Regions from separate parts of the Homo sapiens genome. Here all the other regions are linked to region 2. Evidence: promoter capture Hi-C in 16 types of primary human blood cells and fetal thymus (Javierre and others, 2016). All regions are on one chromosome and are shown on one strand. Each heading gives the region's core, a stretch centred on a gene start or on the middle of the fragment in contact. The rest is flanking DNA. Distances are from core to core; before and after follow the strand shown.

The links. Contacts are between HindIII fragments. The CHiCAGO score rates a contact against its expected background, and 5 or more counts as called.
Region 1: a contact is called between a fragment that was not itself captured here and the fragment with the promoter of LINC01182 in region 2, in 1 of 17 cell types (total B cells). The highest score is 5.5, in total B cells.
Region 3: a contact is called between a fragment that was not itself captured here and the fragment with the promoter of LINC01182 in region 2, in 1 of 17 cell types (naive B cells). The highest score is 5.4, in naive B cells.
Region 4: a contact is called between a fragment that was not itself captured here and the fragment with the promoter of LINC01182 in region 2, in 3 of 17 cell types (monocytes, M2 macrophages and total B cells). The highest score is 10.8, in monocytes.

What each region holds. Positions count from the first base shown.
Region 1 is chr4:15,193,745-15,200,449 of GRCh38, forward strand. All of the region lies in intron 2 of C1QTNF7-AS1 (C1QTNF7 antisense RNA 1), which reads right to left. Among named protein-coding and RNA genes, the nearest start is that of CPEB2, 190 kb to the left of the region's middle. The HindIII fragment of the contact is 488 bases long and covers 4,243-4,730 here.
Region 2 is chr4:13,650,759-13,658,090 of GRCh38, forward strand. It overlaps LINC01182 (long intergenic non-protein coding RNA 1182), which reads left to right and starts at 4,421. Exons shown (of 4, transcript NR_121681.1): 1 at 4,421-4,593; 2 at 6,989-7,096. RefSeq lists an enhancer at 3,946-3,995. The HindIII fragment of the contact is 4,521 bases long and covers 3,790-7,332 here.
Region 3 is chr4:15,007,538-15,014,787 of GRCh38, forward strand. CPEB2 (cytoplasmic polyadenylation element binding protein 2) reads left to right here. Exons shown (of 12, transcript NM_001177382.2): 2 at 1-49; 3 at 801-890. It overlaps C1QTNF7-AS1 (C1QTNF7 antisense RNA 1), which reads right to left. Exons shown (of 6, transcript NR_125911.1): 4 at 2,956-3,035. Among named protein-coding and RNA genes, the nearest start is that of CPEB2, 8.7 kb to the left of the region's middle. The HindIII fragment of the contact is 2,021 bases long and covers 308-2,328 here.
Region 4 is chr4:14,788,850-14,796,528 of GRCh38, forward strand. All of the region lies in intron 2 of LINC00504 (long intergenic non-protein coding RNA 504), which reads right to left. Among named protein-coding and RNA genes, the nearest start is that of LINC00504, 95 kb to the right of the region's middle. The HindIII fragment of the contact is 2,973 bases long and covers 1-2,770 here.

The DNA of each region.
Region 1 (6,705 bases), core at 3,237-5,736, 1.5 Mb after region 2:
TGTATATCCAACACTCAAATTAACTAGGCTTTCCTTAATTTATTTGCTAAAGCTGGCAACCCTATATTTAGGTCACTTAACTTCTCTGATCCTTAATTTCATCAGCTGTGAAATGGTCTGATAGCCCATTAGTCCACAGGAGACACTCAGTAAGTAGTCGTGACTTTCAATTTTCTAACAGTTTACTCCTAATGCATATGGGGCAAGATCACATCTCGAAAGCACAGAGTTAAGGTGTTTTTATATTTCCTCCACTTTCTGAAACATGAGCCAGATCAATTGTTCCTTGATCAGATAGAAACCTGTAAGGCATGGATGGGTTGTCATTTAATGCATTGTCCATGTTCCAGCTGGCTACCTCCCCAGCTGGCCAGCACACATTATTCCCTGGGTTCAACTTTGCTCCTGGCTTGCAGGAGGCAGCTAATATCCAGGTCGGGCTGTTTGGCTGGTGTATTCTTCCCAATGACTTCCCCTTCCCTTGCCTCTTCTATCCATGACATTAAAAAAAAAAAATCACAGCCTCTTCTTTACCAAGCAGCTGCTTCCCCTAGGACTTACTATCTCTCAGGCTCGAGTTCCTATTGGGAAACCCATAAAAAGGGATGTTTAGACAACATGGGGCATTATAGTAATCACAGAACTCTGAATATTTGTTGGAAAAATAATTTATTAGGCTTATTACTTTTCAAAATATGTCTGTTAAAGCATTTCCAGGGATTTGGGGAAGAAAGGGGAAGGCAGTATCATGTGCTTGGTCTGTGATCTTCAAATGAAACCCACTTCATTGCAGTGTAAAATGCTTTCCACAGATTTTCACTTCGTCTTCATGGTAACTGGGAGCACAGTCCCCCACAGCATTTTCTGCTACGTTCTCTCTCATCTTGGTCTTTTCTGCAAGACTACCTAATGATAAGGGTGAGAGCCTGGGCTTTTTGTAAAAATATGACTCAGAATCTTCTAAGGAAATTAAGTTCACAGCTACCAGAAGAGGTCCTGCATAGGAGCTATTCATTTTCTGTGTGTGTTGACCTCTAAATTCTTTTTGTGTTTATTCATGTAACAATTACTTACTGAGCTATGTCTTAGTTTGGAGTATCCAGCATCAGATGCAGAGATCAGAGTGTGTATGAAAATGATCAGAGAACTCCCATGGAGGGATGCATGGTCTATTGATGACCCAGCTTCTGCCCTTCCAGACCCACCTCCACATCAATGGTGAGGACAGGCTGCTTGTAGGCCAGCGGTTGAAGACAGCGGGCACCCATATAGGCCCTTTCCTATGGGACACAGGACTCCTCAGGTGAGTGACTTAAGTTCAAGAGTCTGATCAGCCTGGTCAGAACTTTCTTAGGACTGCAATGCAATCCATGACTCTTCCAGCCCAATCCTCCTGCCTTCCCACCTCCTCACAAGGGCCAGATCAGCATCACCGTCTGAAGACTCCCTGCCTACCCCTCACCCTCCCGTTTACCCAATACACGTATTCCCCCAATGGGTTCCTTACACATTTGATGTTCTTTGGCATTTCTTCTCAGAAGACCCAAACTAATACAACATGCCATCCCAAAAGCACAGTGAGGGAGTGGGGAAAAGAGGCAGGGAAGAAGAGAGAGGCCACAGAGAATGTTGACAAGGCTACCTCTGTGGGCAACTCGAGGTTCAGACCTCCCCAGAACCTTCTGAGAAACTGCATGGAACTCGCCTCAGAATTCTACCCCTAAGCAGCAAGAAACCTGGAGTGTTTATTCACAACTCCTGTCCCTCCATGAGTGAGGGTCACTCCCGGGCATTAACTGGCTTGCACTCCCTGGCTTGCTACATCACCTTGTCAGGGGTGACCCTGGTACTGGGCCAGGAAGTCTGACTCCAGAGCCTAAATTCTTAACCACTAAGCCATGCCCTTCAAATTTATTACATTTGAAAGTTTGAATTTAAAACTAACATAGCATCTATCAGCTACTTTTTTTTTGTCCCCAATTAAGGAAAATTTGGCAATAAACATCTTTCTTACTAAAATATTTTATACAGCTGGGCGCGGTGGCTCACGCCTGTAATCCCAGCACTTTGGGAGGCCGAGGCGGGAGGATCACCTGAGGTTGGAAGTTCGAGACCAGCCTGACCAACATGGAGAAATCCTGTCTCTACTAAAAATACAAAATTAGCCGGGCATAGTGGCGCATGCCTATAATCCCAGCTACTTGGGAGGCTGAGGCAGGAGAATTGCTTGAATCCAGGAGGCGGAGGTTGCGGTGAGCAGAGATCGCGCCATTGCACTCCAGCCTGGGCAACAAGAGCGAAACTCCATCTCGAAAAAAAATTGCTAAAATATTTTATACTAGTAAAGTTGTCAATCTATCCAGCTAGCTGATAGAAGACCATGGCCTCTTACTCACTGTGTGACCTTGGGTAGATGACTTAACCTCTCTGTGCCTTAATTTCTTTATGGATCAAAAGCAGGTAACAGTCTGTCTTGCTGACTTTACAGGATTATTTTGAAGACCTTCAGAGTGCACGCTTATGAAACAGCTTTGTAATAAACTGTTAAGTGCCTTCCAAGTGGAATGGATTATCCTTCTTAGATAAGCTTGAACTTTCTCCTTCCCTGCTCTGCTCTACTTCGGAAACAAACGCATACACTGGCCACTCTGGCCTTCTCCTATCCCTGACCCCACAATGTTATAGGAGTTCTCCTCTGGTTCCTCCTCTGGTTCCAAAACCAGTTTCACAATCTCAACAGCACAAAATGTTTCATTCTATTCCAGTATAGCTTAGATAATATAGATAAGAATCTGTAATTCATCCTTCCTTGATCAATGTTCTTGACTGTTTCATGCTTGCCTGAACACGGTCCATTCAGTTGTAAAGCCAGAGGCTTAAGAACAATGAATGGTTTCAGAACTTTCTCATGTCAGTTAGGCAGCTTTTTCTTAATTCTCTCTTCCTAAGGAGGTTTCTAAAATCTTATTGGGTCATTCACCTCTTTGAGACTCTTATGAAAGGCAAGGCTCCTCTCCTTGGGAAAAATAAAAAATAAAAACATAAGCCTGTATACACACAGAGACCCACAGCCCCCAAGCCCTCACCACTCCCCAGCATACATATAAATTAAGTACAATTTTGTAGGTACTCACAGCCCTCCGAAACCTATAACTGAAGCTCCTTGGTAAAACATTTGCTCTCTGATGTCAGCTAGATCTAGTTTTACATACTGGTTGTATGTAAAATAGCTACCAATAATGCTGGCACACAGTAAGTATTCAATAAATAAGAGCTGTTTTTATCATTAATGTAACATTACCTTCTCCGGAAACATTACACAGTCCTGGGAAACGTTCAAAAAAAAGGGCTGGGCAGTTTCAAACAGATGGGACCATTTTCTAAAGAGAAGAGGTTTGCTTTAAACCTGGAAAGAGGCTAGTGTGTTGGTTCTCCCTCTGCTGGCCTGAGGTTAACATACATTCTTTGTTTTGATTGTGGTGAGTGTCCATGTACCCTGGGGAGAAGAAAATGGGGCCAGAGGTGGGAGATGGGCAGCTGGGGAGGTCATGGTTAGTTCTAAGCCATCGCGCATACTGGGAAAGCTAAGGACAGGGAGGATGTCTAACCCTTTGTTTATTATTCCCCAAATACTGTATTTGCTGAGCAAATGAGTATCTGTTATTAGGAGGCTTCATGACAATGAGATGAATGAATGAGATCCAGCCCTACTCACAAACCCTGGCCTCATCATCAAAAAGTTTGCCTTCACTTCCAGACTTGGAGTTATAGTTGAAATATGGGGACTCTGGATAATGGTTAAGAACAAGAGCTTTGGCCTCTGGGCTCCAGCTCTGCCCTTATTAATGGAGGGAATGATTTACTGGAACTTGAGCTCCCTGAGTCTCAGTTTACTCACCTGTAAAATAGGCGTAATAATAGTCCCCACCTTATGAGTATTAAATAGTATATCAGGTGCTTAGTGGAGAGTCTAGCAATAAAACAAACTTAATAAGTGGCAGATATTAGCATTATTTTGATTCTAACATAGGAATAGTATTTTAAAAGCCTTTAGTACATTTAAAATTCACAATAATCCTTGCTTGTTGTATGAGGTCAAAACACTTGAACTTGCTAATATTCAGCCACTTACAAAACCAGCAAATTTTCATATGGTTTAATGTAATAGAAGAATTGGAAAATTCATAATAAAAATAGAAATTATGCATAGTACCGCCATCCAGAGCTACACATTTGGGTGTAAGCTTCTGATATCTTGTCTATCTGTAAATAAGTCATGCTAATATGAAGTAGGAGTGCAATCCTGATCAGATCAGGTTTTCTAAAAATCCAGTCGGACTGCCAGGTGATCAAGGAGCAGTCAAAATGTCCCCCAGAAGATGCCAGGGTAATGGGCAGAGCCTGCGGACAGGAGAAGGGCATTGTTAACATCCACCGTGCTCGAGGGAGACCCTGGGTGTTCTGTTCAGTGTCTATACAACCCTTCCTGTAGCAGCACCCTCTGCCTGTTAAGGGCAGACTGCTGCCTCAGCAGATACACTTGGCCCTGGCAGCGAGGGATACAGCCTTGACAGGCGATTTCATCGGCTCCTTAGAGATGAGATAAATTGTAGCTTTGACTTTATAATTTCCCAACCACTTTGGGTAATCAGGGTTTCTGCTAGAGCACAATGACTTATTAGAGTAAAACCGTGGTAGGGTTAAATCCACCATCTCTCTTTATTGTCCCAAGCTTTTTGCCAACATAAATAACTCCTAGCTATTTTTGGAATGGAGATGTAGCTATCAAGCTGTGCACGGCCTAGCAAGGCTTCGTGATGCATATGAAAGCTTTCTAAATGTCCTGCTGCTCCTGTTAAGAGGGTAGAGGAGGCTGGGCCCAGAAGGGCCTGCTCTTTTCGTCTTCTGGTCCTGGAGTTGTTGAAACTCTTATTGATGCAGACACAGATTATCAATTGTCCTGTCACTCCCCATGGAGACTCTTTTCCCATTACTCCAAGTTAATGAAATAGTGAATGTGCCTGTGCAAAGAACGATGGGCTAGGAGATGAGAGCCCATGATTTAATCTCAACTTTGCTACCAGCTCTGTGACCAGGAGCAAGTTACCCATCCTCTCTGGCTTGTAGTTTCCTAAAAGAAAAACCCAGGGAACTGAGAGAGATGATCTCTAAGCTTTTTTCTAGTACAGTTTTCAAGCTCTCTGTATACCTAATGGAAATCCTTTCTCTCCTCTTTCAGTGAGTCTATGAACTAGGAAGTAATGAGGATCTAAGAGTCCAAGGGTCCAAGAGAAAATTAGAAGTTGTGGGAGATTATTTTGTTTATCAAGAACACTAATGAGAGAAGGAAAAGGCCCGTAAGATGGCAATGCATATATCTGACAATGGGCATATTCCCAACATATATAAAGAACTCCTACATATCAATGAGCAAAAAGGCAGACAACGCAACAGAAAAAGGGCAAAATAGTTTAATTAAAAAGGATACACAAACAGTGGATAAAGTTTAGAAAGATACTCATTAGTTATCAAGGAATACAAATTAAAACTACAAAGAGATGCCCCTCCACATACACCAGAATGGCTAGTGATGAAGCCAAGCACTAATGAGGATGCAGAGCACCAGGGACCTGCTTATACCTCAGGTGGGATAAAAAAAAATGGTACAACCATTTTGGAAAATGGTGTAATATTATCTATGAAAGCTGAACATATTTATAATTTATGACCCAGTAGTTTTACTCATTAGGTATATACTCAACAGAAATGCATATACTCATCTCTTAAAAGACTTGTACAAGAAAGCAGCATTATTTGTAAGCAGCTAAAAACTGGAAACCACCCAAATTTCCATCAACAGAAGGACAAATAAATAAATGGGTATATTTGCACAATGAATTCTAAACAGCAATGTGAGTAGACTACCACCAAGCACAACTTGAATGAATTTCAAAATATAATTTTCAGCAGAATAAACCAGACATAAAAGGGCATATTACATAATTTCATTTAAAGGAAAAACTCACCTCTGCTATTACATGTCAGGGCAGTAGTTTTCTTGGGGTTATGTAGTGACTGAAAGGGAATAGAAAGGGGCTCCTGAGATGCTAGCAATGTTCCATTTCCTGAGCCAGGTCTTAGTTATGGAGATGTGCTTACTTTGTAAAAATTCATTGAGCTGTATATTTATGATATATATAATTTTGGGAGCATATTTTATACAACAATAAAAATGTTTTTACTTGAAAAAATAGAAAAATATGAATTCTGTGATATTTTTGGTATTGTTTTCTTAACGCCACCCCAGAGGCTTTTTTTAAACCATTCTAACGTCCGTTGATCTTTTTTTTTTCCAAGCTTGCTCTGTATCACATAACCCAGAATTTGATAACCGGCTATCTTTTTATGGTTCTCTGATTGTTTCATTTGCTAAAATCTTACCCTGTCAACTGCATTGTGAGTTCTAGAGCCTGGTAGCTATGCCTTTTACTACTGGACTCCGGAAAGCAAAAAATGTAAAACCTTCCTATTTGTCCCTCTGGTTTCCATTATTTAGTGCACCCATATTCCCATGTGCTATTACACAGCCCTCAGTCCTGGCTTTTTCTATACTTGTGCCATGGATTTATAAACCTGCCAGTTTTTTCTATCCCTAAACTTCCCACTTATAACATCTGCAGAATAACCTGCCTTTTTTCTCTTGAT
Region 2 (7,332 bases), core at 3,171-5,670:
AGCCACTATGCCCAGTCTAGCTTGATGAACTTTTAATTAGTTGTATATACTTGTGTAACCATCACTCATACCATGACATAGAACTTTCTTACCTTTCCAGAAGCTTCTCTTGGGTACCTTCCTGGTCAAAAATGTCTCCAGGAGGTGTGCTACTATTCTGATACTTACCACCATCAATTAATTTTGACTTTTCTTCAATTTCATACAAGTGGAATTATATAGTATTTTCATTTTTGTGTCTGATTTCTTTCTTCAACATAATGTCTATGAGATTCATCCATGTTGTCATGTTAGTAGTTGTTTTTTAAAATTACTTTGTAGTACTCCATTTTATGAATACACCATGATTTATTTATCCCTTCTCCTCTTGAGTGACATTTGGGTTGTGCAGTTTTTGGTTATTATGAACAAAGCTTCTATGAACTTGCTTATAATGTCTTTGGGTGGGCATGTGACCTTATTTCTCTTTAGCATATACCTAGTAGTGAAACTGCCATAGTTTAGGTGGATATTTAACTTTAGTAGATATGAGCTACTATGGTCTAAATGTTGGTGTCCTAATGAAATTCATATACTGAAACTTAATCATCAGTGTGATAGTATTAAGAGGTGGGGCCTTTTTAAGGTGGTAAGGTTATAAGATAAGGGTGGAGCCCTCACAAATGGGATTAATGCCCTTAGTAAAGAGATTTGAGGGAGTCCTTTTGCCTATTTGAGTGTGTGAGGACACACAGAAGGTGCCATCTATAAGGAACGGGCCCTCACCAGACACCAAATCTGCTGGTGCTTTATCTTGGACCTCTCAGCCTCCAGAGCTACGATCACTACATTTCTGTTGTTATAAATGAACAAATCTATGGTATTTTGTTATAACACAAGCAAGAGACTAAGACATAGACATTTGCTTTTTACCGGGAATGCTTCACAAGGTCAGAGACTCAGGTCGTCTTATTCTCTGCTGTGTCCCCAGAATCCACAGCAGTACCTGGCTCAAAGTCAGTGCTAATAAGTCATTCTTGATTAAATTAATATATCTGTATCTTGGGCATCCTGATTCTTGGCTTTGTATTAGGACTTTTGTTTCAGTGAATAGAGAAGTTAGAACCTTTCTCCTTGCACCCAGAATTCCTCCTTGCACCCAGAATTCCTCTTTTGAAACAAGTATCTTTTAATACCTCCTTAAATATCTTGAAGTGAAGTTCACAGATAATACAACCTGTTTACACATGTATTTTATTTTTAATCAATATGGTATCCTAACCATTCTACAAAAGAAAACTCTAAAGAAAATAATTTATAATAAGGTAATGAGTGTTTCAATATACAAATAACTGGGGAATACTACACTCAAAGGCCTCATGAAATACACAGACATTTGTGACTATATCGATAATCAGTACAAATGCAAAGTGAGAGGCGATGTTCTGCTAATGCATATCATGTTTTGCACTGTTGTTGGTGATATGATTTACCAAATAGTGACCAACTCCTGGTAAAATTTATCATAAAATAAAGTACAATCTTTCTTCAATTGACTCTGGAAAATTCATTGGATATTAAAATGGTATAAGAATGTTTTGTTTTTAGATGTAAAATGGAGCAAGGTTCTACATTCACATAACTTTTTCAACTACACAGATATTTTCTGGGACATGTAGGGCATTTACTCACCTTGGTCCTCAACCATGAAATACCATTGAGTGCCCTCTCATCATAGCACCAACTATCCCCACACTTTTCCAAAATATCCTTGGGTGTGGTGCCACCCCTACAAAAACCCTGATTCTAACTCAGCTCTCTCATTTTACAGTTGAAGGAATCATCCCTTTGGGGAGGGAAGAATTACTCTCTGGAAAACATAGGGATTTAAACATAAAGACTGGACCAGGACCGCAGACTTCTGACTTCTTAGGCTAAATCCCAGTTGTATCCACCATAGCAATTGAAGCCAAGGATTAGAGTCAAGTAGGCTTGGGATCAAATCCTGGCTCTGACCTTGGGAAAACTGCTTCATCTTTTCGAGCCTCTGTTTCATCATTTGCATAAATGAGATTAAAAATAGCATTTACCTTAAAGAATTGTTATGAGGACTAAGAGAGGTTATGACTTTGAATTCTTGGCACATAGTGAACTCTTAATTAATGGTAGCAATTATCACACTGCTATTCCTCCCTTTAAAGCTCATTCATTTAAGTGCCAACAGAAATTGTCATATCCTAGAGAACTTCTATACTGGAACTTTTTCCTCTGTAGAGAAATACTTGTTTATCATTTGTTTCCAATACTTCAAATCATTCCTTTTCAGGTCAAGGCCTCCTTCTAATCTCTCCATTTTCCTCCAAGATGGCCTGGGCCAAATTTAAGGGAAAAATGTCTTGAGCAGAGTAGCTTGGAGCATTCTCATACCTTGACTCTTACTTAAAGAAAGGAAGAAGAAACTTTGGGGCTTTGATTTGGTTTGAAAAGGAGGAAGGGAGGTGATATTGAGCACTTATTTTGAGCACTTATTTTGTACCAAGTGCATAGCAGGTGGTCTATTTTGTTTCATTCTCTCAAGAATAGTCCCTGTGAGGTGGACTGTTTATTATCACCTCCATCTTGCAGATGAGAAAGTGGAGACTCTAAGCTGATAAAACCCTTTCTTGAGGTCATACAGAGCCAAGATTAAAATATTAACAAAAAATAAAATTCTAGAGCCCCTCCAAGCATCTGAATGGACCCCTTCTTGGCCAGGGCACTCCAAAGTTAACCTGAAAAACTGGTTCAGGCCATGACGGGAAGGGGTGTCAGACATGTCTCGTTATACCCTACTCTCTTTAGGAATTCAGGAAACGTGGCCAGCATTTAACATCAACACAGACCTTAAGTCTGATAAGAAACATTTACATTCTATTCTCTCTGAAGCCTGCTACCTGGAGGCTTCATCTGCGTGATAAAACCTTGGTTTCCACAACTTCTTATTGTAACCGAGACATTTCTTTCTAGAGATAGTAACTCTTTCAACCAATTGACAAATCAGACAAATTTTAAATCTACCTACAACTGGAAGCAGACCTCCCCACTTTCCCTTTTCTGGACTGAAACAATGTATGTCTTAAATGTATTTAATTGAAGTCTCACGTCTCCCTAAAATGTATACATCTAGGTGACGCCCCAATCACCTTGGGGTCATGTTCTCAGGATCTCCTGAAGGTTATGTCATGGGCCATTAGTGACTCATATTTGGCTCAGAATAAATCTCTTTAAATATTTTAGAGTCTGACTCTTTTTGTCAACAAAAATCACATCTCTGTCTGACATTGTCGTGATTTGGGTTCTTTCAAAAGCAGATCCTGAGACAAGGGTTTGAGTGCAAGTGGGACTTTGGAGGTGTATTTATCTTTTTAAAAAATTTTTTTTTGTGCCTCTCAGCTCTGAATGGACCCTTTATTAATTTATGCTCTGGGACTAACGAAGGCGTGCCTTTGAGCCCGTCTCCTTTAAGTGCGCGCGATGCTAGGCTTCCTCAGTAGAGGGCGCCGGAGGACACCGCAGCTGGAGGAGGGTTTCCGCCGGTTGTGCGGGGACCGCGGCTCAGTAGTGTGGGTGGACGAGGACAGCGGGTGGAACTGGTCCTTCTGTGACTTTGCAGCCCCGGCTTGGTGATAATTTTTGTGCAGGCTTCTTGACATGGAAAGCAGAGCTCCCCAGCACAGAGTGAGCCTCCGAAGGGCTCCTGCCCTTACCGGTGCCCTACCCTCCCTTTCCCTGCTTGCTACACTTGGGTCCGGGACTCAGCCTCCCTTTGCAAGCTTCTGCTCGGCCTGTGTGCAGCTGCACTTAGCTGGCAGGGTCAGGCGTTGAGTAGCCGCTCCGCTCCTTCTGCAGCCTCCTGCAGCCCCCGCCAGCTCCCGGGCTCCATCCCTCACCATCAGTTGCTGATTGGCGCCCCCTGCGTGCACAACGGAGGCTGGCTGCACCTGGAGGTTCCCAGCAATTCCAGGCCGGCTCCAGCCTAGCCAAAGCAGCTAACTTCTCTGCTGTCTCGTGGGCTGAACCTCACCGTTTCCCAAGAGGTCTGAATCCTTCTCAAGTTCGTCTTTTCCTAAGTTCTCCCTCGTAGCTCTAGGTTGCTTTGTAGAGTTTCCTTATATCTATACTCTTCATTGTAGTTAATGACTCTGTGTTACACTTGTCCTGTTGAACTTACTGTGTAGTTTCTGTCTCTTGACTGGATCAAGGCTCTCACAGGAGTCAATCCCAGAAAAATGATGAGACAGTAGGGAAGAGAGAAAAGCCAATAAACAGCATGTTAATGAGTAGGTCCCACCTGGGGCTCAGTCGCACTGGTGTCCCTCTGAGAGTATGGGCACCACACACTTTGGCATTGCCCCAGCAAGGCAAGGGGCAAGCAAGGGAGCTGGGTGTTTATCTCCCAGGCATTGCTTGAGGCTTGCTCTTGGGAATGGTAGCTCCCTGGAACTTCTGTCCAGCCTGCATATCTGGACTGTGCAGGGGATACTTCTATGGCCAGAAAAAGCCCTTGGGCAGAGAGAAGCAGGTTCTTGATGCTGAGATGTCTGCGTGCTTGGGAGTTGACCACTGCAGCTGCAGGTGACCTCTGGGGTGGGCCAAGGGGATGTAGGTGGGCAGTGATACATCTGCTACAGACATGTTGCAGGATGCAGGGCAGCAGAAGGAAACTGATCAGCTGGCTGCCAATGAATGGCCCAGACTGATTCAAGGGTAAATTTGCTGGAAGAAGTCCGTTGCAGAAGATCAGATGCTTTCCTGACTGGTGTAATTTAATTGTATGGTCAGTGTTTGCTATGGATAATTGGATTTTTCTTTGACCTTCACAATCTTGCTGGCTCTCTGTCCACACTGAAAGACACTTTTCTAACTCTCTCAAATGCAATAAGACTAACCTTGGCTTCCATCAGGAACTCATGGGCTTGCCATTTCCAGGAGGTGCCGATGGCTGTGGTATCCAACCAGCAAACGGCAGTGGTGTTTGTATTTTCCATTTTGCCCTTTACAAGAACATTTCAGCTGAAGCAAAAGGCTTTTTCCTTTACCCTGGGTTTTTTAATAGAAATCTTGGTGGCATTAAGCACTTTTAATTCTGAGCACTAGCCTGTAAAGTTCAAAGCTCTGTTCTGCTCTTGAACACAGCGGATACCAAGGCGAGAGATTCTAATCACAAGGAATACCAGAAAAAAAAAAATAAGCAGGAGACAAGTTTATTACGAAGGGTTGTGAACAGTATTTGTGATTAATGTGGAATGAAAAAGGTTATTTCTACATTAAAATCATTCACATTTGCAATAATTTAAACAATTTATCTGGTTTCCCCAAGTGGGGATGTGTTCTTTCCACATATAACATGCTCAGTGAAGGAAGAACAAGGAAGGTTACGCTGCCCTGAAACATATCTGGGAGAGCTTTTCGGCTCTGGGAGGATCACCAAGTTATGTTGTTAAGTGACAAAAACAATATCCGGAAGAGTGTCAAACAGCTAATTATTGTGTAAGAAGGAAAAAAAGAAGACTACATTAGTCACATTTACTTATATTTATATGAAAAGCTAATAAAAGTAGCTAGGTATACGTAAGGCAGTCAGAAACAAGACTTTTCAATTATAACTTTTATATCATTTTAATTTAAAAGTTACGCTAATATATTTCCTGTTCAAGAAACAAATAACAACATGCCCAGTGGAAAGCATCATCATTGTAATAATGTCCTAAGATCATTTTTTATGACCTTTGAAGGTAACTTAGGATAGGAAAATGCATTCCATAAAATTCAGCTGCCTGCACATAGTGAATCCTTTGCAAACCCTCGGAATAGGCTGAGGGTTTTTATATGACCATGGAATTTTTTTTTTTTTTTTTGCATCTTTGCTGCTATTCGCCATCCAGGCAGCAGGGGGAGGTGTTTCTCTGTTTTTCTTTGCGCCGCCCACGCCTTCTCCCCAACTTCATATGCAAAACTGACCAAGAATTCTCTAATTCAAATCTATGCACGAAAGGCACCACATTTTCTAGATTCATGTTGTTACTCTCTCATATCCCAAATCTGGGAGACTTGGAGCTTCCAGCAGGCTGCTAATGATTTTTCAAAAGGGGCCGATTGTTGGATTTGCTGGTGTAAAGTTTGTCCTCCCTCTTCTCTGTGCCCCTCCTTGTCACTCCACTCAGCCTTTATACATCACTTGCCATAATCGAGTCATAGAAAACGAAACTTACATTATGGAAATTCACAGCCTTTTTTTTTTTTCCACTTTGTAGATGAGACTCAGGATTTAGAAGGCAAAACAAACAAACAACCAAACAAATAAAAAAGGGATTTATTTTGGACCTTCATAAATGGTGCCAAAGTAAAAACAAACAAACAAAAGGTAAAAGAGGAAGGGACTGTTAGATGAATGTTTATCTCGGCGCCTGGTACCATACCTGCCTTACACACTCACAACGCAAGGAAGGGTGTGTCACCAGAGCCATTTTGCTAAGGAGGAGATTAAAGCTCAGAGGGGCTGAGCAACTTGCCCAAATTTATGTTGCTAGAAAATGATAGAACTGGAATTGGAAGCCAGACTGTATCTAAAGTAGAAACGTTTAAATATTTTCTTCCTATACCACACAAAATAAGCAGAAGGCAGTGTCTCTCTCTCTTTTGTCCCTGTCTGCCCCCCACAGTCTCTGTACCTGTTTTCCCACAAGGGTGTACCACCTGCTCCCTACTCCACATCGCGTCTATAAAGAGAGAGAAGGAAAAAAGGAAGTCGCTTCAAGAGCTCCCCAAATGCTCAATGGAAGTTGCTCTTTGTTGTACATGGGCAGCGATTTCTTTAGAAAAAGTAGTGACGTAGACCTGCCCGAGGTCAGCGATTCCTAGAGCAGTGGACTTGGGGAAGTGCCAGGGAAGCATTATGTTGTTTAAAAAATTGTTTTGGAGCATGTGCTTGTGCGTGTGTGTGTTTCTGAGCATATCTGTTTTCTCACAGGAGCTGCCTGGCAATGGTAGCAGGTGAAGGTCATGGTGAAGAAGATGCAGATATTGGCAATTTGGAGCATTAGATGAACTAATTACAACGTTAACCTAAGGAACAGTGGTGAGACCATTTTATCCAAAGTGAAGTTCTTGAGAGAGATCTTGGGTGGCACCTAGCCTCTGTATTAGATAAAATGGACATCCCTTGGGAGAGAATGTGGCTCTTTTCTATTCTGATTAGGGCAAAAAGAGTCTCCTTTGATGCCAACATGACCTTAGTGCCTTTAAACATATACTATGCTGCCATTTCCACAGAGAGGGACAAGCAGCAGCTTGGGGTCCTTGGGCAGGCAGTGG
Region 3 (7,250 bases), core at 68-2,567, 1.4 Mb after region 2:
TAATGTGTTCAGAACAGACAACAATAGTAATACACTCTTACCCTTACAGGTAAGAATGGTATGTAAATGACCTTATCTCTAATGTTAATCTTTCAAAATAGGGAGTTGGGTGGTGGTGGTAGTGGTATGCTAAAATTAACATTTTTTGAAATAAAGTTTTAATTTTTAAGCATGTAATTTAATTAACAAAGGTTAAAATATCTATACAGAGAAAATTGAGAATGTAAAATAATTCTCTAAACACGCAATGGAAAATAAGCTTAGTAAAACGTAGAAAAACCTTTTGTATTTATTAAATACATACTGAAGCTTTCAATTAGCAGCTCTTTAAGAATGCTTTAATTTATAAATTCTAATGGGCCACCAAAATTTGTTTCTCCTTTAATATAGCTAAGCTAATATGTTCTGTAATTGTAACTGTTCTTAGAATTGACTATAATTGGCTGTATATATATTAGAATATACTTAGTACAGCTGTGATTGTGGCAAAATAATATTAGGGCTTTTTTGCATCTAATTTAAATTTATCTTCACTAATTCACCGATTATTTTTTCTAAATGTGGCCTAATACGTTGATTAGACTTTTTTTTTCTTTCAGTATTTTTATTATTTTCTTGAAGTTCCCTTATGGCTATTGCAAGTGAGGTTTTTGTTTTGTTTTGTTTTTTTCTTAAACCTTTAGAGGATGGAATGAGGATTTAAGATAGAGCTTTATTTTTTGTTTTCTTTCTTTCTTTCGTTGGGTGGGTATGGGGAAGACAACTGCTCATTTCTGATGAAAACTTCTATGCTATTGAAGGTGAGATCTAGTTTGCAGTTGCCAGCTTGGGGCTCAGATTCACTCCAAGATAGTTGGTGCACTGCAGCCGGAACATCCAGAATAGACCAGGTAGGCTGCACAGTGTATACTTTTTAGGATTTCGGTTAGGAGTTTAGTATTTATATTATGAGTAGGATTTATTATTTACTTTCTTATTATACCTATTGAAACATATGTTAGAGGACACTGAAGCAATTTATTTTTTAAGGATCACCTGCTTTGAACTATTTAATGTAAGAAATTTTTTATTTTCAAATTTAAGAGTAATCCTTTTATAATTCTAAAACATAATAAACTTTTTTTGGAAAAAGGAATTATATACACAAGAGCACCTGACTTTAAACATCAGTCAAACTAAGCAGATTGTATCTCTTTTCAGAATTAAATGCAATTAGGTACAAAATCATATGTTTACTTAACATCTAGCTTTATATTTGATGTTTCATAGAACTTTTCAGTAAATTTTTGTCATGAAGTCTGTATTTGTTTTGAGATATATTTCTAAAAAAGACTTCTCTTGGTTCAGTTTTTTCACCTTTATTAAAAAATATATAGCCTAGTATTCTAAATTTTGTTACTGCTTTTATACCCTGACTTATTCCAAATAATCAGTTTCCTATGGAGAAACCGTTAGTCAAAAAGCTGGGAGTTAGCCTTAATCAAATTACATTTACACCTTTGGTGGTTACAAAATGCTATCTTTCTTCCTGCAAACTGAATTTGAATGTATACTAGGTACCAGGTGGTGAGGATTATTATAGGTTATAGAAAACTCAGTCCTTATATATGCAGGTTCTTTCTTACAGAGCTCAAGTTTGAATGAGCATAGACTTAACGTTGTGTGTGTTATATGAATGGAGCTATGTTATTCTAAGTCTCTTCCTTGGTTAATTTATCAACATGAGATGATTTTACAAGTAAGGACATAAACAGATTAATAATACGTTTGTAAGTAACATTCTAATCTAGAAGGTTAGCATTAATTTTGATAATCAACCACTAACAATTGTTTTAGCCAAGTCCTGCCTGTTTTCCAAAGTAGTCCTGCCAGGGTCTTCACCTAGAAATGGTAGTTACTTCATGCAATTTGCAACGTATTGTCTTGTTAATATAAGTTAGCTATTTACCTCTACTCTCTTCTCTAGTCTGGTCCAGTTAAGCCTTATTAGTGACGTTTTTATGGTAGCATTTTTGTATTTAAATTCAATACATGAATGCCTAGGAGATGGTATGTTTAGGAGAAGAAAATTAATGTAATTATTTTGAAGGTGGCAAGAGAAATGTTTTCAAATAGAAGAGGACATAATTACTCTGTGCAGAAAGAAGCAATAGGATGGATACATATATAGGATACATATATAGGAGAAATAAGTATCCATGGAAAAGAATACAAATTAGCTGGCATACATGGTCCATGAGGCAGGGACAGATGTTGAGAAATCAGATTATTGAGTTGATTTCAGTTGGAGGGATGCTAGAGAGGAGATAGGGGTGATAATGAAAGGGAAGCTTTCACACCAGCCTCCGGGGCTGCCCTCCCACTTAGACTTCAATCAAAGCTATTCTGCTTTTACCTGTATTATAACCTAAGATTTTAGGGAAATTTATTTTAGGAAAAATGATTTTGGTGCTTAAAGATAAACTTATCTGGTAAACTGCTGAGATATTGGCATTCCCTTTGGACTTTTGAGCCAGAGGTGTGATGTGATGAAGTAAAACACAGTGGTGGGGGAAAAAAGAGATAATGGAAAGTGAATGGAACTGGAAGGAAAGAAGGCCTGAAACTTGGATCTTCTTCCTCTTCCTCATAATCTTTATGACATTGAATGACATAGTTTATAGGTTTTCATCTCTTTGGGTCACAGTTTCCTTATCTGTAAAAGGGGGACCTTGAACTGGGTCATTTAAGGCCTTTCCAGCCAGCTTTTAACACTTTCTCTGATCTGTTTTGGCCATTTCTTTTCCTCCATGCTGCCCCACCCCCCTTGCCTCTATTTTTAGAATACAAGCCTCTTGGTTTCTTTGAGCAAAGGGTCTTAGGCATTAGTCTAAGGCAGTGGAGGTAGTATGTGACCTTTCAACTGGACTTAAAAGCAGTGTCATTGTCTCCTCTAAGTACCCTAAGAGTACTTACACATAGTTTGTTGTGTGTTTCCATCTTTCCATAAAAGGTTGAAGTATTTGAAGTTGAGCCTCTTAAAAATACAGCAGCAGCTACAAAATGAAATTGATATCTTAAAATGTTGGGTAGTTTCTCATTCTTTGGCAAAATTAAAATTATAGAAGATTCTTAGTCACTTAAATGTCTGAGGAGATTATCTGCATTTCTGACCTTTTATCATCATATACAGTGTAATTCTAGTATATTTTTGTTAACAAGTACATTATTTTACAACATTTTACTTTTTATTTCCTTTAGTCTCAAACTGATTGGGGCCTAGAATATAATACAAAATTCTAGAACTGAAGTCTTAATTCTTATACTTGGATACCGCGGGCTTTACCTGTGTCAAGAGCTGAACACGTAATCGAATTCAATAAATAAGAAAGAGCTAGTTTTGTAGGTTGATTTTTATTTCTGTTAATATGTAAAATTTTGTGGGTTGGAATTTTATTTTAAATAAGATTTTTTAAAAATAGAAAACCCTCAAATTTAAAACTTTCTAAAAGCAAATATAAATTATTATAAACATTTCTGACTTTAAAATGAGTATTACATACATATCTCTATGAATTTCTTTTCTTTTTTTTTTTTTTTTTTTGAGACAGTTTCACTCTGTCACTCAGGCTGAAGTGCAGTGGCACGATCTCGTCTCACTGCAACCTCTGCCTCCCGGGTTCAAGCGATTCTCATGCCTCAGCCTCCCCAGTAGCTGTGATTACATGCATGCACCACCATACCCGCCTAATTTTTATATTATTAGCAGAGACAGGGTTTCACCATGTTGGCCAGGCTGGTCTCAAACTCCTGATCTCATGTAATCCGCCCGCCTCGGCCTCCAGAGTGCTGGGATTACAGGCTTGAGCCATCATGCCTGGCCAGTATATCTACATGAATTTGCTTAGGGTTATTAATTACTGTACTTTAAAATGTCATTAGCTAGTTACCCTTGCGAGAATCGTACTCAAAAGTTTGAATTCTAAATTATATTACAATGGAATTTGCAGCCAGATCCAGCAATGTGCACTACTTGGAAGGCTGAGGCAGGAGGATTGAATGCCTGAGCCCCAGAGTTGAGTCCAGCCTCGGCAACATAACAAGACACCACCCCCTCTTCCCAAAAAAATAGGAGTTTTCAGTTTAATGTTAAGGTTACGCTATATTTATTCATATGTTTTAAATCAAAGAGTAAATATCCTTTAAGTGAGGTTATTATTACTTACAAGTTTACATATGACATATCAGCTCACTGTAAACAAAGTAATGTCTTGGAACAGTAATTGAGTGTGTGAAGCATGTACGTGCATGTCCGCCTGCCTTCCACCTGGGGAATTATCAATATATCAACTCTCAATTTTTGCTCTTCCACAAGCTCTACTTGCAGTGCTTGAGCATGTCACATAATAAACTACCTTGAATTAATTGAAGATACTTTCCATTAATCTTTAATAGGCTGTTATGATAATGTGGTAAATCATAATTTGGAGATCTGTCTCAGAAAAAATATTATTTGAATCTTTACTCACCTTACACACAAAAAAACAGTATATAGTTGCATACCAAACCCAATTTGTTTATCTGATAAAGCATTTCTTAAATAGTGGTTTGTAAACCAGATGAACTTCAGGGACATTCATAGTCATCAAACTGTTACATGCCCACTGAAAATGGAAAAGAATGGACTCTTGTATTACAGCTTAAGTAATGGATGCCTTCTTTTTGTTTCCTATTCTGTGTTCAGTGCTTTAATTGTTCTTGAAATGTTTTCCACTTGTCTATTTTAATTCTTGTGAGTACTAGAATAGCTTTGGCCTTTTAAAACATTTGTTTATTTTTTTTCTGAGAATGGCTAACACACTTTATTGAGGTTCGAAATTAATAAAGAAAATAAAAGAAATGTATCTTCATTCATTCTGTATGTTAGTGTTTTAATTACCCTTAGAATATATGGATAAAAAATACTATTCTTTGTCTTGGAGAAGGTAAGAGTCTAGTTAGATGAATAAGGGTTATCTATGTAGAACAACTAGAGAATGAGAAGAGAGCTTATGAGATTGAGTACTACGTTATGCAGTAGAGTAGCACGTCATCTGCTACTGAGTATGGTGTGATAACATTGTGTAACAGGAAAGTATGATCAATATCTACTTAAAATTAAGGACAATATTAGCACTACATTGCTTTATTTTAAAGTAAAAATTAGAGAACTAAACACAAGCATTGTAAGTACAATAAAAGCTGATCTTTCTAGTTAAGCAGAATAATACATGTTCAAGCATCTGCTAAATCATTAAATATAAGAATATAGGGGTTTTCTATAATCTTATTTTTCTTTGGAAGAGTACCTCATTTTCAAGAGGAGAAGTTTCTAATTGACCACTTCTTTAAAAATAAAACAGGGTTTTTAATGTATCCCAGCAAAAAAAATTAATATCTCTTCAAAAAGTTCTCTTGTGATTAAGTTTGAATTCCCTTTGTCATACTGCTTCTAATATTGTACACTGACCTCCTTAGTTATTTTTCAGTGTTTATAATCTTTTCTTAGGTTATCTTTTTTCAAGATTTGGATTACTTTGTTCTTTTCTGTGTTTTTCAGCCTTTCTAAGCTTTTATTGATACTCCTGTAAGTGTTTGTGGCAAATGTCTGGGTTTAAGAAAAACCATGAAATAAATATTATAATAAAAGAGGTTATGCCTTTTCCAACAATGTTTTCTAATCATTTTATTCTGTTAGTTATTGTGAGATTCTGTAATCTGTTTCTGAAAGCCCATTTAGTTGATTGTTTGCCAGATAGTTTTTATATTTTAGAATAGATTGCATGCACACTTTTCCTCATAGAGTCTTATATTTCTGAAGTATTTTGGTGCTTTCAAATAACCTTATAGTAATAAATGTAAATTACATTGCTATGATTTTCCATATTTATTAATGATAATTAGTATTGTTGCGTTCATGGTAACTTGAAAATTGCCTTAGTTCTTCTATTTAGTTTTCAAACTGATGGCAGTTTGCATGAACACAATTTTTCCTAATGTCTGTATTTCAGAAGAATGCATGAGTGTTTGTTTTATAACCAGATTTGTTTCTGTTTTTTCAGAAGTCATATTTTAATTCCTGCAATTTATTTAATGGAATTATCAATATCTTTTGCATGTAAGCCTATAGGTTTCATTAAATTCAAAAAGCAATTTTGAGATGTCATGTGCTCTTTGGTTGCTCAAGGCTGTTTTATGTTTGTTGCTTTAAAAATCACATGGGATGCAGCTGATGCTTTACAAAGTACAACCAAGCTAATCATTTTAAAATAGCTTTGCTGTTTTCTTTCCTAGAGTAGGAGTTTAGGATCAAATACTTAACAGAAAAAGGAAAATAAGAGACCTTATAAGTAGGCATCTCACTGATTCAGTTAGATACAGACATTCAAGCTGAAGTTATTAATACATGCAGCCTTTTTGAATAACACCTCTCAAAATTGATTATATAGTGGTCACTGATATTTATAGTTAGTTTAAGGATGTTTCTCTTTCATACTTTAAATATTGTCCATGACCCGAGCAATAATTTTACCATGCTATAGAGCAAGATCACACCTCTTGCAATGAAGGTAGAGGGTACTTTCCCCTACACCTCCAGAAAAAGGAAGTTACTTGGGAAATATTGTTTGGGTGATTTAATAGTTACCATTAATTAAGGTCATCGGTTGACTGGGCATAGGTTGATTCTGTTCAAAGTTAACAACCTAAAAAGATAACCATGAACTGTAATATATTTCCTTTGTGAGGATTTAGGGTAAGGAAGATAATAAAGTATTTTAAAGTATTTACAGTATACTCTTAGAACCTTCATGATATGGCACACCTGCAGAGGGATTTTTTGCTTAATTATATGAACATTAACTTTTATCATTACAGCTTACATTTTATAATTCTATTTTAAATACATCTGGGAACTTTCAGTATTGTGGTACTTAATCTTCCATTGGGTGGTTGGAAATTCAGGTTCATAGCAAGCCACGTTAATCTGATGCTTGTCTCAGTTTAGTCAATTAACATTTGACTACCTGTTCCGTTGAGGATTCTGAGAAAGTTTTATAGTCCTTTACCATTACTATTTAAAAAGTACAGTCTTTCTCCTTACAGAACTCGACTTTTTTTTTACATTTTTTATTGAGTTTTTATGGTAGAGATAAAGAAGTATTCATTCAACAGACATGAGAACTAACTATATTCTGTAATTAGATAGTCCCTATTCTTAATCAACTTAGAAG
Region 4 (7,679 bases), core at 34-2,533, 1.1 Mb after region 2:
AAACGTATTACAGAGAAAAATTGAAGAAAATTTTCCTAATTTTACTAGACAGGTAGACATCCAGATACAAGAAATCCAGAGAATACTATGAGATACTGTACAAAATGAACAGGAGGGCATAGAGATACCAGATTGTCCAAGGTCAATGCAAAAGAAACCTTAAAGAGAAAGGCCTAGAGAAAAAGGTCAGATCATGTGCACAGGGAATCCCATCAGGCTAACAGCAGAAACCTTATAAGCCTGAAGAGATTGGGGGTCTAAACTTAGCATTTTTCAAGAAAAGAAATTTCAACTGACAATTTTATATCCCTCCCTAAGTTTCATAAGCAAAGGAGACATAAAATCTTTTCCAGATAAGCAAGTTTTAAGGGAATTCATTACCACTACACGAGCATTACAAGAGATTCTTCAGAGCATTCTAAACATGGAAACAAAGAACAATAACAGCTACCACAAAAATGCACCTAAGTACATAGTCAATAGACCCTATAAAACAACCACACAATACAAACTACAAAGCAACAAGCCAATAACTTCGTGGTAGCCCCAAAACATCATATATCAATATTAACCTTGAATGATAATAGGTCTAACAATCCAAATTAAAAGTCACAGAACGCCAATTTGTATTTTTTTTTAAAAAAAAAGAGGATCCCTTCATCTTCTGACTTCAAGAAATCCATCGCACACATAATGACACCCATAGACTCAAAATAAAGAGTTGGATAAAGATCTATTATGAAAATGGAAAACAAAAAGGCAGGGGTCACTATTCTTATATCAGAAAAAAATAGACTTTAACTAACAACAGTAAAAAAGGACAAAGAAGGGCATTACACAATGATAAAGGGCTCACTTCAACAAGAAGACTTAACTTTCCTAAATATATACACACCCAACGTTGGAGCACCCAGATTCATAAAACAACTACTTTAGAAATATGAAAAGACTTAATAACATTATAATAGTGAGGAAAGCCCTATTCAACACCCCTCTTACAGCATTAGAGAGATCACTGAGGCAGAAAATTTACAAAGAAATTCTGGACTTAAGTTTGATACTTCACCATTTGGACCTAATGGGCATCTACAGAATACGCCATCCATCAACCACAGAATATACATTCTTCTCATTTGCACACAGAACGTACTTCAAGACTGACCAGATGCTCACCATAAGGCAAGTCTCGATACATTAAAAAAGCAAAACAATACCAACCATACTCTCAGATCACAGTAGAATAAAACTAAAAATCAATAACAAGAAGATCTCTCTAAACCACATAATTACATGGAAATTAAACAACTTGCTCCTGGATAACTTTTGGGTAAAGAATGAAATTAAGTCAGAAATCAAAAACTTATGTGAAATAAATGAAAACAGAAACCCAACATACCAAAATCTTTAGGATGCAGCAAAAACAGTGTTAAGAGAAAAGTTTATAGTGCTAAGCACCTACCTCAAAAAGTTAGAAAGATCTCAAATTAATAATCTGAGAGCAAACCTAGAGGAACTAGAAAAGCAAGAACAAACTAACCCCAAAGCTAGCAGAAGAAAATAACTAAAATCAGGTCAGAACTGAACAAAACTTATGTCCCAGAATCTTCACAAAGACTCCATGAAATCAAAAGGTATTTTTGAAAGGATAAACAAGATCAATAGACCACTAGCTACATTAACAAGAGAAAAAGAGAGAAGATGCAAATATCCACAATTAGAAATAACAAAGGTGACATAATATCTCACAGAAATACAGAAGATCCTCAGAGGCTATTATAAATACCTCTATACACACAAACTACAAATTCTAGAGGAAATGAGTAAGTTACTGGAAACACACAGTCTCACCAGGTTGAATCAGGAAAAACTGAAACCATGAACAGACTAATATTGAGTTCTGAAATTGAATCAGCAACAAAATCCTACCAACCAAAAAAAGCCATAGACTGGATGGATTCACAGCTGAATTCTACCAGACATACAAAGAAGAGCTGGTACCAATTCTACAAAAACTATTCCAAAACATCAATCAAAGAGGAGGGACTCATTCCCAACATATTCTATGAAGCCACAATTATCTTGATACCAAAAGCTGGTGAAGACATGAAAAAAAGAGAAAATTACAGGCCAATATGCCTGACAAATATAGATGCAAAAATTCTCAACAAAATACTAGGAAATCAAATCTAACAGCACATTACAAAGTTAATTCATCATGATCACCTAGGCTTAATTCCTGGGATGTAACGTTGGTTCAACATATGCAAATTAATAAATGTCATTCACCGCATAAACAGAATTAAAAACAAAAACCATATGGTCATCTCAATAAATGTGAAAAAGTCTTCATTAAATTCTAACATCCTTTCATAATAAAAACCCTCAAGAACTTAAGCACTGAAAGAGCATGCTTGAAAATAATGAAAGCCATCTATGACAAACCCATGGGCAACATCATACTAAGTGGGCAAAAACTGGAAGCATTTCCCTTGAGAACTGAAACAAGAATGTCCACTCTTACCACTCCTGTTCAACATAATACTAGAAGTGCTAGCCAGAGCAATCAGGCAAGAGAGAGAAATAAAAGGCATCCAAATAAGAAAAGAAGTCAAACTATCACTCTTCACAGATGATAAGTATTTTAGAGACCTAAAAACCCCTAAAGATTCTGCCAAAAGGCTGGGGAACTGATAAACAACTTTAGTAACATCTTAAGATACAAAATCAGAGTACAAAAAACAGTAGCATTTTGTTGCACCAATAACATTCAAGCTTAGAGCCAAATCAAGAATGCCATCTCATTCATAATAGCCACAAAAACATAAAATAAAATACCTAAGAATAAATCTAACCAAGAAGGCGAAAGACTTCAAGGAGAAGTACAAAACACTGCTAAAAGAAATCATAGATTACACAAACAAATGGAAAAAACATTCCATGCTCATGGACTGGAAGAATCAATAACGTTAAAATGTCCACAACATCCAAAGAAATCTATAGATTCACTGCTATTTATATCAAACTACCAACTCATTTTTCATGGAACTAAAAAAAACTGTTCTAAAATTCATATGGAACCACAAAAGCCCAAATAGCCAAAGCATTCCTAATGAAAAAGAACAAAGCCAGAGGTATCACATTACCTGACTTAAAACTATACTAAGGCTACAGTAACTAAAAACAGCATGGTGCTTGTACAAAACAGACACATAAATAAATGCAATAGAATATAGAATCCAGAAATAAAGCTGTACACCTACAGCCATCTGATCTTCAACAAAGCCAACAAGAATAAGAAACAGGAAAAGTAATTTTCTATGCAATAAATGGTGCCGGGATAGCTGGCTAACCATATGTAGGAGACTGAAACTGGACCCCTACTGTATTAATCCATTCTCACACTGCTATAAAGAACTACCTGAGGACAAAAAAGTATTGGATGTGGCGGATGGGAGGCAAGAATAGATTGCAGCTCCAACTCAGATGGACAGAGAAGTGTGTGGAGGCTTGCATCATGAATTTTAGATCCAGAACAAATGCAGGAATAAATCAGGAAACATGAGAGGACCCAAAGACCCTCTGAAGGATGCAGACTGCTCCTGCACAATCTGGGAGACACACCAAATATTGTAAGTGTGCAAACTGTGGAAGTGGGAAAAAGAGGTTGTCCACCCCTGAACACACACCTCCACTGGGGAAACTGAAGGTCTAGTTTACAGGAGAAGATTCTGACCTTACCTGGAGCTGAGTCAATTTAGACAGCCAAGCGAAATACAGGGGTAGAAGAAGCAGTGGGAAAGGTCTGGTGAGCTCACTGCATCCCCAAGCAGGCCACTGCTGCCTGGAATCACAGGGAACCTTCAGGAGGGTGGCCAGAGATGTGGGGAAAACACCACAGGGAGAAGGAAATCTCTAGCTGAACTTTGTAACAATTCAAACTGCTTGAGAAGGCTCCTAGCCACAACTTGGGGGAGGGCATGAATCCAGCATCCAGACTTTGCAGGTAGGGGAAGAACTAAAGCCCTACTTTCTGTTGCAGCTAGGAGGCAGGTATCCTGGGGCAAGTTCTCAGCCCTGCTTGCCCACTGCCAGGAAACAGACTTGGTGCTCATAGGAGAGGCATGGTGGGAGTGAGACCAGCCCTTCAGATTGTGTGGGAGCTGGGTGAGGCCTGTGGCTGCCAGCTTTCCCCCACCTCCCTTACAAACAGCATGACTCAGCAGAGGTAGTCATAATCCTTGTAGGAACATAACTCCATTGACTGGGCACCTCACCCCCATCCTCCACAGCAGCCACAGCAAGACCCACCCAAAGACAGTCTGAGTTCAGACACTCCTAGCCTTGCCCCCACCTGATGGTCCTTCCATACCCAACCTGGTAACTGAACACAAAGGACATATACTCTTGGGAGTCTAAAGCCCCACTCTCTGCCTTCTCCATAGTATGACAGCTGATGCTATCTGGAAAGCACCATCTCCCAGCAGGAGGCCGATCAGCATAAAAATAGAGCATTAAATTACCAAAGTTAAGAACCCTCACAGAATCCATTTCACCCACCACCACCTGCAGCAGAACAGGTGCTGGTATCCACCGCTGAGAGACCCATAGACCATTCACATCACAGGACTCTGTGCAGACAATCCCCAGCACCAGCTCAGAGCCTGGTAGACTTGCTGGGTGGCTAGATCCAGAAGAGAGATAACAATCACTACATCTTGGCTCTCAGGAAGTCACATCCATAGGCAAAGGGGAAGGCACTACATCAAAGGAACACCCCGTGGGACAAAAGAATCTGAACAACAGCCTTCAGCCCTATAACTTCATTCTGACAGAGCATACCCAAATGAGAAGGAACAGAAAATCAACTCTGGTAATATGACAAAACAAGGCTCTTTAACACCCCCCAAAAAATTACACCAGCTCACCAGCGATGGATCCAAACCAAGAAGAAATCCCTGATTTACCTGAAAAAGAATTCAGGAGATTAGTTGTTAAGCTAATGAGGGAGGCACCAGAGAAAGGTGAAGCCCAATGCAAGGAAATCCAAAAAGGAATACAAGAAGGGAAGGAAGAAATATACAATGGAATAGAAGGCATAAATAAGAAACAATCAAAACTACAGGAAACACTGGACACACTTTAGAAATGCAAAATGCCCTGGAAAATCTTGGCAATAGAATTGAACGAGAAGAAGAAAGAAATTCAGAGCTCAAAGGCAAGGTCTTCAAATTAACCCAATCCAACAAAAAGAAAGAGAAAAGAATAAGAAAGTATGAACAAAGCCTCCAAGAAGTCTGGGATTATGTTAAAGAACCAAACCTAAGAATATTTGGCGTTCCTGGGGAAGAAGAGAAATCTAAAAGTTTGGAAAACAATTAGGGGAATAATCAAGGAAGACTTCCTTGGCCTTGATAGAGACCTAGACATCCAAATACAAGAAGCACAAAAAACACCTGGGAAATTCATTGCAAAAAGATCATTGCCTAGGCACACTGTCATCAGATTAACTAAAGTTAAGACAAGGAAAGAATCTTAAGAGCTGTGAGACAAAAGCACCAGCTAACCTATAAAGGAAACCCATTACATTAACAGCAGATTTCTCAGCAGAAACCCTACAAGCTAGAAGGGATTGGGGCCCTATCTTCAGCCTCCTCAAACGAAATAATTAGCAGCCAAGAATTCTGTATCCAGATAAATTAAGCATCATATATGAAGGAAAAACAGAGTGTTTTTCAGAAAAACAAATGCTGAGAGAATTCACCACTACTAACCCACCACTACAAGAACTGCTAAGAGAAGCTCTAAATCTTGAAACAAATCCTGGAAACATAACAAAACAGAACCTCTTTAAAGCATAAATCTCACAGGACCTATAAAACAAAAATAAAATTTAAAAAACAAAAACAAAAAATCAAGGTACACAGGCAACAAACAGCATGATGAATGGAATGGTACCTCACATCTCAATACTAACATTGAATGTAAATGGCTTAAATGTTCCATCTAAAAGATACAGGACTGCAGAATGGATAAGAATTCACCAACCAACTATCTGCTGCCTTCAAGAGACTCAACTCACACATAAGGACGCACATAAACCTAAGGTAAAAGAGTGGAAAATGGCATTTCATGCAAATGGACACCAAAAGTGATCAGGAGTAGTTATTCTTATGTCAGACAAAACAAACTTTAAAGAAACAGCAGTTAAAAGAGACAAAGAGGAACATTATATAATGGTAAAAGGCCTTGTCCAACAGGAAAATATCACAATCTTAAACATATATGCACCTAACACTAGAGCTCCCAAATTTACAAAACAATTACTAATAGACCTAGAAATGAGATAGACAGCAACACAATAATAGTGGGGAACTTCAATATTCCACTGACAGCACTAGACAGACCATCAAGACAGAAAGTCAACAAAGAAACAATGAATTTAAACTATACCTGGGAACACCTGGACTTAACAGATATATACAGATATTTCATCCAACAACCAGTGAATACACATTCTATGCAGCAGCACATGGAACTTTCTCCAAGATAGACCATATGATAGGGCACAAAACGAGTTTCAATAAATTTTAAAAAATTAAAATTATATCAAACACTCTCTCAGACCTCAGTGGAATAAAACTGGAAATAAACTCCAAAAAGAACCTTCAAAACTATGCATACACATGGAAATTAAATAACCTGCTCCTGAATGATCACTGGGTCACAAATGAAACCAAGATGGAAATAAAAAATTTATTCAAACTGAACAACAATAGGGACCCAACCTATCAAAACCTCTGGGATACAGCAAAGGCAGTGCTAACAGGAAAGTTCATAGCCCTAAACACCTACATTAAAAAGACTGAAAGAGTACAAACTGACAATCTGAGGTCACACTTCAAGGAACTAGAGAAATAAGAATAAAACAAACCCAAACCCAGCAGCAGAAGAAAAATAACCAAGATCAGAGCAGAACTAAATGAAACTGAAACGAAAAAATACAAAAGATAAATGAAACAAAGGGCTGGTTCTGCTAAAAAATAAATAAAATTGACAGACCATTCACAAGATTAACCAAGAAAAGAAGAGAGAAAATCCAAATAACCTCACTAAGAAACAAAGCGGGAGATATTACAACTAACACCACAGAAATATAAAAGATCATTCAAGGCTACTATGAACATCTTTACATGCATAAACTAGAAGATCTAGAAGAGATGGATACATTCCTGAAAAGATACAACCCTCCTAGCTTAAATCAGGAAGAATTAGAGACCCTGAACAAACCAATAACAAGCAGCAAGTAACTTTTAAATTACTTTGTAATTTTTGTAATTGTAAAATTGTACTTGTAAAAATTACAAGTAAAAATTACAAGCAAAAATTGTACTTGTAAAAATTACAAGTAATTTTTAAATTACCAACAAAAAAAGTCCAGGAGCAAATGGATTCTTGGCAGAATTCTATCAGAAATTCAAAGAATTGGTATCAATCCTTTGGCACTATTCCACAAGATAGAGAAAGAGGGAACCTTCCCAAAATCATTTGATGAAGACAACATCACCATAATACCAAAACCAGGAAAGAACATAGCCAAAAAATAAAACTATAGACTGATACCCCTGATGAACATAGATGCTAAAATCTTTAACAAAATACAAGCTAACCAAATCCAACAA